3 separate regions of the Homo sapiens genome follow, and all the other regions are linked to region 3. The links are contacts of gene promoters, found by promoter capture Hi-C in blood cells and fetal thymus (Javierre and others, 2016). All regions are on one chromosome and are shown on one strand. Each heading gives the region's core, a stretch centred on a gene start or on the middle of the fragment in contact. The rest is flanking DNA. Distances are from core to core; before and after follow the strand shown.

Region 1 (3,748 bases), core at 776-3,275, 550 kb after region 3:
AAATAATCTAGGAAGACACTACGTGGCTTCTTGGAAATAAAATCAACAATTTATAAGATTTATAAGGTGGAGATTGTCTTAGTTCATTCATGCTGCTACAACAAAATAGACAGGGTAATTTATGAATAGTTGAAATTTATTTCTCACAGTTCTAGAGGCTGTAAAGTCCAAGATCAAGGCACCAGAAGATTCTGTGTCTGGTGAAGGGCTTGCTCTCTGCTCCACAAATGGCACCTTGTTGTGTCCTCATATGGCAAGAGGGCAAAAAAGACTTGGGTGTTCCCTTCAACCTCTTTTATAAGAGCACTAATCTCATGCTTGAGGGTGGAGCCCTCATGACTTAATCACTTCCCCAAAAGCCCCACCTCTTAATACTACTGCACTGGGTCTTTGGTTTCAACATATGAATTTTGGAGGGACATACACATTCAAGCCAAAGCAGAGATGAAAGAATAACAGGATGTGATTCAAAGAAAACAAATCAAGGTGAAAACAAAGGTGGGTGGATTTAAAAAATGAGAACCACAGGGGAACTGAAATCATGGTGCCAGAGTAGAAAGTCACTGGCAGGAGATAAGAACAGCACTGGCATTGTAGAAAAGCATGCTGGCTGTATGAAAGAAAAATGATATATTCTCCCTGTAAGCAAAGGACGAAGAGGGAAATTAAGAGAGACAGGGGAAGCAATAGGTGTGGTTGGCAGAACAGATGACCCAGAGACTTCTGCATGTTCCTCAAAGAGCAACCAGATCAATTTGAACAGGAGCAACAATCAAAATTATAATTGAAAATAAAACCTCTGGAACCTGAGGGGAAAATAATCTGAGGATGCAGCTCAAAAGAAATCAACCACATTTTAGTTGAATTTAATGAAAAGAAAATTGCAATGTGACATATCCTGGGAAAACTTTTGAGTTGCAGATACATAAAATATCACAAAACCATCCAGATAGGAAAAGCAGGTTACTTATAAAAGAGTTAAGTTCAGGTTGATCAGCAATTAGAAGTGAAAAGGGACATTCACTGAAAGGATACAGGAAATAGGGGCAAGAAAATCTTCAGCTTCATGAACTGAAATTGAACCTGGAAAGTTCTCTCTCTCTCCCTGTCTCTCTCATACACTTACGTGCACACACACAAACTTCCTTCATCATTTCTTTGCCCAACAGCCATTGTCCATTGAATACCTTTTTCTTTATCAAGTTTTAATTAAGTGAGAAGGAAGATATTTGGCTCAGCTCATCTCTGTTCAAGGAGAAACCCTCAAGCAATAGGTGAAAGAGCAGCCTATACATCAGATCTCTTGAGGCAGGTGTCCACACCTGGGCCAATTGGTGAGCACACCTATCAAGAAAGAGCTCAAGCCAGGCATGGGGACATGCACTTGTATTCCCAGCACTTTGGGAGGCTGAGGTGGGAGGATCACTGGAGCCTGAGCAACATAATGAGACCCTGTCTCCACAATAAAAAAGCACTCAGCTATTTCCTCATCAGGCAAGTGAGTTTAAAAAGAAAAAGGCTTGGCCGGGCGCGGTGGCTCACGCCTGTAATCCCAGCACTTTGGGAGGCCGAGGTAGATGGATCACGAGGTCAGAAGATTGAGACGATCCTGGCTAAGATGGTGAAACCCTGTCTCTACTAAAAAATACAACAAAAATTAGCTGGGTGTGGTGGCAGGCGCCTGTAGTCCCAGCTGCTCAGGAGGCTGAGGCAGGAGAATGGCATGAACCTGGGAGGCAGAGCTTGTAGTGAGCCGAGATCGCGTCACTGCACTCCAGCCTGGGCAACAGCGCGAGACTCCGTCTCAAAAAAAAAAAAAGAAAAGAAAAAAGGCTTTGCCTAGGTTTCTCAGAAAACAGAGCCAAAGGCAAAGTTCATGCGTTATGAGTTGTGAGCAGTGTGCTGCCGCAGAAGCAAAAGTGAAAAGGAAGTGAACAACACAGGAAGGCAAGAAAGCAAATCCAAGGCTTATCATTGAGCTAGCTACAGCTTCTCAAAACAAGTCAATCTTGATGCTCAGTCATGGGTTGGGAAGAATATCTTCAAGGAGACTGAATGGAACTGCTGAGTGAACTCTCCTTGGAAAGGGCAGAGAGATTGTAGAAGAATGGAGAAGCAATGCTGTGGCCATGGGTCTTCCTGAACTTGGGGGTCCCTGAGACCATCCCCGATATTAGGAGATGAGGTAACAGGCTGTAGGCAAGAATGACATGATGTACCAGTCAAGGTTCTCTGGAGAGACAGAACCAATAGGATGTGTATATATAGAAAGAGATTTGTTACGAAGAATTTGCTCATGTGATTATGGGAGCCAGCAAGTCCAAATTCACACAGTGGGCTGGCAGATTCAAGACCCAGGAGAGTTGATGGTGTGGTTCTAGTTCAAAGGCAGTCTGCTGGAGAGTATTTTTCCTTTTCCTACTTGGTGGTGGATCAGTCTTTTTGTTCTATTCAAGCCTTCAACTTACTTGGATGAGGCCCACTTAGATTCAGGAGGGCAGTCTGGCCTACTGTACCAATTAAAATGCTTATCTCATCCAAAAGCCCTCACAAAAACACCCAGAATGTGTGACCAAATATCTGGGCACCTCCTGGCCCAGTCAAGTTGACACATAAAATTAACCATCACACATGAGAATTGCTGGGGCTGCTCAAGCAGGATACAGGGCAAGTGGCCAATGTCCAGAGTCCAGGAGAACCTCGGAACTGGAGTGGAGCAGTCTGGTTCTGTACAATGGACTTGGCAAGCAGATTGACTACCATGTCTGGTACAAAATTATTATAGTGTAGTTATTGTTCTGCAGAAATTAGAATTGATTATGTGTTTATCTTTAAATTCTATTGACTTGCCTCTTACTGATAAAACCCTTATCGTTTAAACTGGTTGTCCTTTGAGGATATTTTTGCCATGCTTGAGAAGAATGGATAAAAAGAGGCTTCAAGGCTGAACTTTGGCTTTTGCTTGGCAATTATTATTCCATGCCGTACGCTTTGCCTTCCTAACCGTTTTCTCTTTGGTGGAAACAAGATGAACCCTGACTTAATATAACAGAACAAGGATGTGTACCCATGTGGATGTAGGGGTGCCAGAGGGAATGATCGGGACTTTGTGCAACTCGTAAATGTGGAGATGATGATGTGTTCATAGTTGCTTGATGACACAGGAGTTCTTCAATATTTCTCCTCCTTAAGTGATCTTTATTTGCTTTCCTGTCTGCCCTGCAGTACCACCAGTGTCTCCCTGCCTATACATGTATACATATTCTCACTTGGGACAGGTCCACATTGTGTCAGTTGTAATCAATATAGCAAAACTTATTTTCTTTGTTGTTTTTGAGACATCTGTCATTCGGGGTCTCTTTCTGTCTTGCTCTGTCATCCAGGGTAGAGTACAGTGGCATGCTCATAGCTCACTGCAACTGCCAACTCCTGGGCTCATATGATCCTCTCACTTCAGCCTCCAAAGTAGCTGGGATTACAGGTGTGGACCCCTACACCCAGCTACTTAAAGAAACATTTTTTGTAGCAATGGGGGTCTTCCTATGTTGCCCAGGCTGGTCTCTAACTCCAGGGCTCAAGCAGTCCTCCTGCTTCAGCCTCCCAAAATGCTGGGATTACACACATGAGCCATGATGCCCGGCCTAGCAAAATTGCTAATGAGATAGTTTACATTCTCTTTTTCATACTAACTCTCAAAAATCCACTGTATATTTACATTTACAGCACATCTCAATTTGGATTCACCATA
Region 2 (3,844 bases), core at 854-3,353, 910 kb before region 3:
CTTGGTGGCTTGGGAGCAGCTCTCTCTGGTGCACAGCAGGTGTTGGGAAGTATGTGTTGAATAAATGAATTTAGATTATTTTATGGTTCACTTGCTTATGTCTGCCAGTGACTCATGCTGTGTGCCTCTTCTTTCCTCTGCACACATCTCTCCCTGTGCTCATCCATGCACACACACATGCAGGCACACACTGTCAACAGCCTGGTATGATGCTGGGCACCTGGGAGTGCTGACTAAGTGTCTGGGGGGGGGGGTCACATGATGGAGTGGCTGGCAGATTGGCAGCCACCGTGGTAGGAAGCTGTCCTATTTGTCTGGAATTTGGGCTTGTGCTCAGCTCCTAATGACTCACTTTGTGGATTGGCCATGGGGTGTTTCATCCACAGGTTCTCTCCCCTCCTCATCACCAGGGAGGTGTCTGGGTGGTCTTCAGCAAGGATGGGCAACATGGCCATTTCAACACTGGTTCTTGACTCCCATGTTGTTTGGGGGTCTTGGGGGTTCTTCAGAGGGAGAGGGAGGGATGCTGCAGAGGGCAGTATGGAATACGGGGCTCCTTGTTTCTAGATAGGGCTGTCAGAGGCTTCTCCATCTATGGGCCCTGTTCTTGGAAGCCGGGTCTGCGCTGCAGGTCCCTCACACAACCACTAGATGCCAGTGTTTCTTAATGGATGGAAGGGGGAGCCTGGGAAGGGCTGGCGGAGAGGGAAGGTCTAGATGGTCCTAGGGGGATAACAGGGCCTGGGCTGTGCCCATCTTATAGATGGGAATAGTGAGTCCTGGGAACTTAGCTAAGGCACAGGTAAGCTTCTCTAGACACTATGCAGTGAATCTGACGAAAGCGCCAGGGTTCCGGCTTCCACTTCCTTGTTCAGTGTCTTTATTCGGGATGTCTCACCTGTGCTGTCCAAGAAGGGCGTTGCAAACAGGTAAGTGGGGAGGGGCCGGAGGGGATGAGGGTGGTTCTGGGGAATCCAGCTTGGGAGGAGTGGAGCCTGACAATGAGAGAGGGGGTGAGAGAGAGGACTTGGGGGACCAGCAGCTGGAAAAGCACTGTTCATCCCATTCCGGCATTCATCCTTCCTTCCTGCCTCTCATCCTCCTTTCTGTTTTAGTTTGGTATCTCAGAAGGCAGAGAGAGAGACACACACACAGAAAGAGAGGAGGAGAATCAACCAGGTGAGGAGGCTCCACTTTTTTTTTTTTTTTTTTAGACAGAGTATCGCTTATTGCCCAGGCTGGAGTGCCATGACACGATCTTGGCTCACTGCAACCTCTGCCTCCAGGTTCAAGTGATTCTCCTGCTTCAGCCTCCCGAGTAGCTGGGATTACAGGTGCCCGCCACCATATCCAGCTAATTTTTTTTTTTTTGTATTTTTAGTAGAGACAGGGTTTCACCATGTTGGCCAGGCTGGTCTCAAACTCCTGACCTCAGGTGATCCACCAACCTCAGCCTCCCAAAGTGCTGGGATTACAGGCATGAGCCACAGTGCCCGGCCTGAGGCTCCACTATTCAAGGGAGAATCCATCTCGTGCTGAAATGAAGTGCAGGTGTGGGACTTCTGTGCTGTTCCCCATCCTTGCCCCCTGCTCCCTGGCCCTTATTCCTGGCACAGGGCCAGGTGTGCAGGAGGCCCTCCGTAAGTGTGTCTGGGTGGAGGTGGGGGCAGAGCGTGGCCAAGGACGGGAGATGGAGCTCCCTCAGTACAGTTCCTTCTGGCTTCCCATGGGGCAGACCTGGGGATTCCAAAACATGGGGCGAAGATTGACTGTTGAGCCCCCAATACAGTCCCAGCAATGTCAACACCACTCAGGGAAGTCACAGTTAAACATCGGGGGCCACGGCCTCTGCTCAGCCCCATTGGAGGGGAGGAGTGGGGGTCGGGATGGAGGGCAGATCAAGAGAGAGGCTAATGTGGTTTAAGCAGAGATAAGAAAGGCTGTGTGCTGCCTGCAATGCTTCCCGGTGAGCCTAGGATTCTATCATTAGAGACTGATTTATTTAGGTCAAGCCGTGACTCCCCCTAGGAGTTTTACATAGTTTCTTGCATGTAATAGACCATTCAGTAAATATTTGTCAACGGAGTCTCCTTAAAATGAAAATACCCCGAGGAGCGATAAACCATTTTCATTTGCTAACACTTCACCGTGAATTAGTTTATCACACTAACTAGTGTCCTAACAAGGTTTCTGAGGGGGAAACTCAGTACAGATGTGTTCTGAGGAGGCGCCTGCCTGGGAAGACGGGGGAGATGTGGAGTTTGGGCAAGTGCTGGAGATGATGTGACTTGGCCGAGAGCAAGGGCCAGCGTGCTCAAGGTGGGCACAAGGATGTTGGGTGTCTGCTGCCGGCCATACAGTCATGCCTCTTCCCTGTTGAAACTCTCTAAGATCTTCACAGTCCCTGGGAAAATGTCCCAACTCCTCTCTAAGGTTGCAGAGGTCCTTTCTGATCCAATCACCTCTCTCCTCCCCAGCCTCCCGTCTTGACACTGGCAATGCTCCAGCCGGACTCTTCCTTGAACTTAATGAGGCCTTATTACCTCCTTCCCTTTGTACTTGCTATTTATTCCCTATGCCTGGCTTACTATCTCACACTCTTTGCCTGGTTAATTTCAATGAGTTTTTCAAATTTTGTTTAGATGTCACTTCCTCCAGGAAGTCTTCCATGACCAACCCAGTGTAGAGGAGGCTCTTCTTCTTCTTCTTCTTCTTTTTTTTTTTTTTCTGAGACAGAGTCTCGCTCTATCGCTCAGGCTGGAGTGCAGTGGCGTGATCTCGGCTCACTGCAAGCTCCGCCTCCTGTGTTCACGCCATTCTTCTGCTTCAGCCTCCCGAGTAGCTGGGACTACAGGTGCCCGCCACCACGCCCAGATGATTTTTTTTGGTATTTTTTTAGTAGAGATGGGGTTTCACTGTGTTAGCCAGGATGGTCTCGATCTCCTGACCTCATGATCTGCCCGCCTTGGCCTCCCAAAGTGCTGGGATTACAGGTATGAGCCACCACGCCTGGCCGAGGAGTTTCTTCTTCTAAATGGTCTGGCAGTACTCTGTAACTGCACTCTCCTTGCAATTACATTGCAGAATTGGAAAAAAGTAACAAAAAGTAGTATACATGCAGAATTTAAACAAATTCCAATTGTATAGGAGGCTTATAATAAAAAATTACAGTTGCCTGCTTGTATTAGTCAGAGTTCAGTCAGGAAAATAGAAACCACACCAGTTATCTTAACAGAGAATTTAATATAGAGAATTGGCTAAACAGGTATTGGAGGACTGAAAAAGCCCAAAGAGAACATTGAAGTAGCATGGTTAGAGGAACTAGAGAAAGAAGCCATCATCCCTAGGATGGGCAGAACAAAAGGGAGATGTCGTGGTTATCTGACTCTACAAGCTTGAAGAAGAGGCCCCATGGAGCTGGGTTTAGACCTCAGACGCTGCAGCCTGGCTGACTGGTGCTGCTATCTCTGAAGGAGCATGATGAGATTGTGCAGTAAAAACTGGCTACTGGAATGCACTGCTGCTGCTCGGGGGGAGATCTGTTGCTGGAGAGACAGGGACAAGAAGAATAAGCCAGCAGAAAGAGCATATGCCTCTTTTCTCTCCTCCAGCCTTTGGTTTCTCTCTAGTCCTCCTACAGGCAGAACCCAACAAGGAGCCAGTTGACGAAGGAGAGATGTTATGTGCAGAGCCCCAATCTTAGCACCAAAACGTAGAGTTTAGAAGAGTGAGCTCGGGCTGGGCGTGGTGACTCATGCCCGTAATCCCAACATTTTGGGAGGCTGAGGCAGGCAGATCACCTGAGGTCATGAGTTTGAAACTAGCCTGGCCAACATGGCAAAAC
Region 3 (3,862 bases), core at 990-3,489:
TCATGATTTTAAAAAATCATCCCCAGGCTGGGCACGGTGGCTCATGCCTGTAATCCTAGCACTTTGGGAGGATGAGGCAGGCAGATCACCTGAGGTCAGGAGTTCGAGACCAGCCTGGCCAATATGGCGAAACCCTGTCTCTACTAAAAGTACAAAAATTAGCCAGGTGTGGTGGTGTGGGCCTGTAATCTCAGCTACTCAGGAGGCTGAGGCAGGAGAATTGCTTGAACCTGGGAGGCAGAGGTTGCAGTGAGCCGAGATCGCGCCACTGCACTCCAGCCTGGTCAATAGAGCAAGACTCAGTCTCAAAAAAAAAAAAAAAAAAAAAATTCATCCTCTAAGCAGCCCCTGTCCAGTCTTCCCCCGACCATCCCTCAGAGAGCCATGTACAGTTCTCAGAGCCCTGTGGTGGCTCTGCTGCCTTCACGATCACTTCCCCCCAAAGCTGGCCCCAGCAGGCCCCCCAGAGTTGGGTCCCTTCTCAGCTCTTAAGCCTCATTGCCCCCATTCCACCTCTTTACCCCCGCTTCTGCCAAACCAAACCCTTGAGCGCCTCCTCAGCCTTCACATTGCTCCATGCCCCAACCTTCATACTGCTGGCCTTCTTCCAGAACATTCTCTCCCCATCATCATGACTCTCCATTGAGAGAGCTCTGCCTGCTACCCCTTCCTGCCCTGCTGGGCCCCTCATGCCTCCATCGCATTATTGTGTGAATGGCTAATGTCCCCTCCTTGATGGGGCCATCTCTGAGGATAGGGACGTGGCCCTAGTGCAGAGATGCTCAGGGATGTTTAGGGAAGGAAGTCATCAAGAGACCTAGATGTGAACCCCATCCATAGCGCCTCCCAAACCATGTGGTCTTGGCCTCCCTGGGCTTTGATTCCCTCATCAGTCCTGCCTGCGCTGCCAGGCTTCTGTGAGCCTTTAATGAGCCTGTGTTGACAGATGAATGCATTCTTGGGACTACTAATCAACGCATACAACTAAGGCCAAGAGAAGCCAGGGTTTCTACCCCAGGGACCCCCTTGGCCCCACCCTCTAGCCCTGGAGCTGGGTCCCTCTGCCTCTCCCAGGATGCAGTCAGAGGCCTGAGCTTCTGGAAACTCTTGGATCTCGTCCCTGCTCCTCCCAGTCCCACCTCGGCTCCAGGTGTCTATCTCTCCAGCTATTTTCTTTTCTGATCTGGAGTTCAAAAGAACAGATCTAGGAGCAACAGCCACGGGGAACAACAGCCAGCAGGCTAGTTCATGTTGGCCCAGCTGAGAGCCTGCGGGGCTGCCCACCTCTCCCTGCTGGGTTTGGGCACCCAGAAAGGAGGGCGTATGGGTTCTGGTTCTATGGGCATTAAAAGCCAATGTGACTGAGAACAGCAGCTCTAGTTAGAGGCAAGGCCAGTTTGGGGCCAGAGCAGGGGGAGGGGGAACCTGGTCTAATTAGAGCCCTAACATGCTCCTTTGAAAGCATTGTCAGATGTCCCCAGCCCTGCAGGCAGGGGTGGTGTAATAATAATAAAACAACATTTGCATAGAGATTTCATTTATAAAGCACTTTCTCAGGGGTGGGGTGGCACTGGGTGGCCCTGTGGAATCCTGGCTGGGAGGCCGCCCTGGCCTTGGTCGGTTCCGCCCTCCCGCCAAGCTGGCGATTGTGTGCGAGGTAAACAAAGCGCCATTCATCCAACTGTTTCAGTTCCTCTCCTCTTCATTCCTTTTTCCCTGTCTCCCACGAAGAGCTCACTCGGGGCTTGTCACTCAGGCCAGAAAAGGGGTGTCAGGGGCCCCAGAGGGAGACCCCTTCCCTCATGGGAAGAAGCGGGGAGGTGGGACGGCTCCCTCCCTCTGCAAACCCCCACCACCCCCAGCTCTGGCAGAATAACAGCCTTGCTGCGGTTGGTTTGTGCAACTCTTTGCTAACCTGTGGCTGTGTCTTCATGGACAAAGTATGAGCCCAGGTTTGGTAATGTCTGTGTGCACGCCACGTTTGTGTTCGGTAACATGCAAAGATAAGCAGTTTGTGGGGCTCTGCGAATCCCTCCCTATCCGAGTGAGCCTTGTGTACACAGTGTGGGGGTGAGGGGCCCTGGGGTGTCTGCCCCTGCACTGGGTGGGCCGGGTGAGGCAGCTGGGCCCTGCTCCTGTACAGCCCAGGCTGGAGCGTCCCCTGCAGTCACCTGGCCACTGGCACCCTGGGGTGAAGGGGGAGGCATTGGGCGCTGGCCCCTTAAGGGCCTCTGATGAGCTATATTGGGCCCACCTGCCTGGGTTCCAGCAGCTTCCGCAGCCCCAGCAGGAGACGGAAGATGCAAGAGGTCATTGCGGGGCTAGAGCGGTTCACCTTTGCCTTCGAGAAGGATGTCGAGATGCAGAAGGGCACTGGGCTCCTGCCTTTCCAGGGCATGGACAGTGAGTGAGGGTGGGGCCACTTTCCCTCCCCTACCTTCTCTGTTTTTTTTTCTTTGAGACGGAGTCTCGCTCTGTAGCCCAGGCTGGAGTGTAGTGGCACAATCTCGGCTCATTGCAAGCTCTGCCTCCTGGGTTCACGCCATTCTCCTGCCTCAGCCTCCCGAGGAGCTGGGACTACAGGCGCCCGCCACCACGCCCAGCTGATTTTTTGTATTTTTAGTAGAGACCGGGTTTCACCATGTTAGCCAGGATGGTCTCAATCTCCTGACCTCGTGATCCGCCCGCCTTGGCCTCCCAAAGTGCTGGGATTACAGGCATGAGCCACCACGCCCAGCCTCCCTCCCCCTTCCTTCTCTACAGGCCTCTCTGCTCAACTCCCTGATGCGACCGCCCCTTCTCTGTCTCTCTCTTCTGTGGCTTCGGGGCAACCCATTTTCCAGACTGAGAAAGAGAGGCACAGAGAGACGGTGAATTGAGAGAAGCCACACTGGCCTCCCGAGCTCCTGGGCCAGGCTTGAGCCCCTCGAGCTCCTCTGTTTCAGAGTTGGGGGGTTAAGGGTTGAGGTCTGCTGGCTGGCTCTGCAGGTTAACCTCTACAGGGCCCAGATTTGGGATCCCATAGGCCAGAGCCTGGGGGAGGTCTAGGTGGGACATGCCGATGGAGGTGGAGGCTTCCGGAACAGCTGCAGCCTCTGGGGAAGCTACCTTCTCCGTTCCCTCTTCTCCTTCCAGAGTCGGCCTCAGCTGTGTGCAACTTCTTCACTAAAGGGCTCTGTGAGAAAGGTGAGTTAGCAGACAGGCCTGGGCCCCAAGCTGGGTGAGTGTAGGGTCTGTCTGAGCTACACCCAGCAGGGGCTCTGCCTGGCCTGGGATAGGGTGTCGAATTTGCACCTGGGGAGGGAAAATTGGGATGGAACGGAATTTTATTTTTATTTTATTTATTTATTTTTAGATGGAATCTCGCTCTGTTGCCCAGGCTAGAGTGATCTGGCGTGATCTCAACTCACTGCAACCTCTGCCTCCTGGGTTCAAGCGATTCTCCTTCCTCAGCCTCCCGAGTAACTGGAACTACAGGTGCATGCCACCAAGCCCGGCTAATTTTTGCATTTTTAGTAGAGATGGAGTTTTGTCATGTTGGCCAGGCGGGTCTCAAACTCCTCACCTCAGGTGATCCACCTGCCTGGGCCTCCCAAAGTGCTGGGATTACAGGCGTGAGCCACCATGCCCGGCCATGGAGCAGAATTTTAGACTTACAGGTAGACAAAGGATAAGTGGTTGGATCCACCGAGCAGCCTGCCCCTCCCCTAAGATTTTCCCGCCTCAGCAGCAGTCTTCATAGTTTGCAGTTCGCATCAGGGTAACCAGGCTGCCTGGAAAGGGGTATTTTTTTCTTTCTGCCTTGCTGGGATGGGCGTGTGTCTGAGCTTTGGCCTGTGCATTCCCAGGAGGCTCCAGCTTC

What was found. The method cuts DNA at HindIII sites, captures the fragments that hold promoters and counts their contacts. A CHiCAGO score of 5 or more calls a contact.
Region 1: a fragment that was not itself captured here is called in contact with the fragment with the promoter of CPSF4L in region 3 in 1 of 17 cell types (fetal thymus); the score reaches 5.7 in fetal thymus.
Region 2: a fragment that was not itself captured here is called in contact with the fragment with the promoter of CPSF4L in region 3 in 1 of 17 cell types (total B cells); the score reaches 6.8 in total B cells.

The regions. Positions count from the first base shown.
Region 1 is chr17:72,707,012-72,710,759 of GRCh38, reverse strand. The region is part of intron 7 of SLC39A11 (solute carrier family 39 member 11); the gene reads left to right. Among named protein-coding and RNA genes, the nearest start is that of LINC00511, 68 kb to the right of the region's middle. The HindIII fragment of the contact is 4,413 bases long and covers 1-3,748 here.
Region 2 is chr17:74,173,689-74,177,532 of GRCh38, reverse strand. No RefSeq gene overlaps it. Among named protein-coding and RNA genes, the nearest start is that of RPL38, 28 kb to the left of the region's middle. The HindIII fragment of the contact is 2,587 bases long and covers 810-3,396 here.
Region 3 is chr17:73,260,257-73,264,118 of GRCh38, reverse strand. CPSF4L (cleavage and polyadenylation specific factor 4 like) reads left to right here and starts at 2,239. Exons shown (of 6, transcript NM_001129885.1): 1 at 2,239-2,403; 2 at 3,136-3,186. The coding sequence starts at 2,301. The HindIII fragment of the contact is 15,055 bases long and covers 1-3,862 here.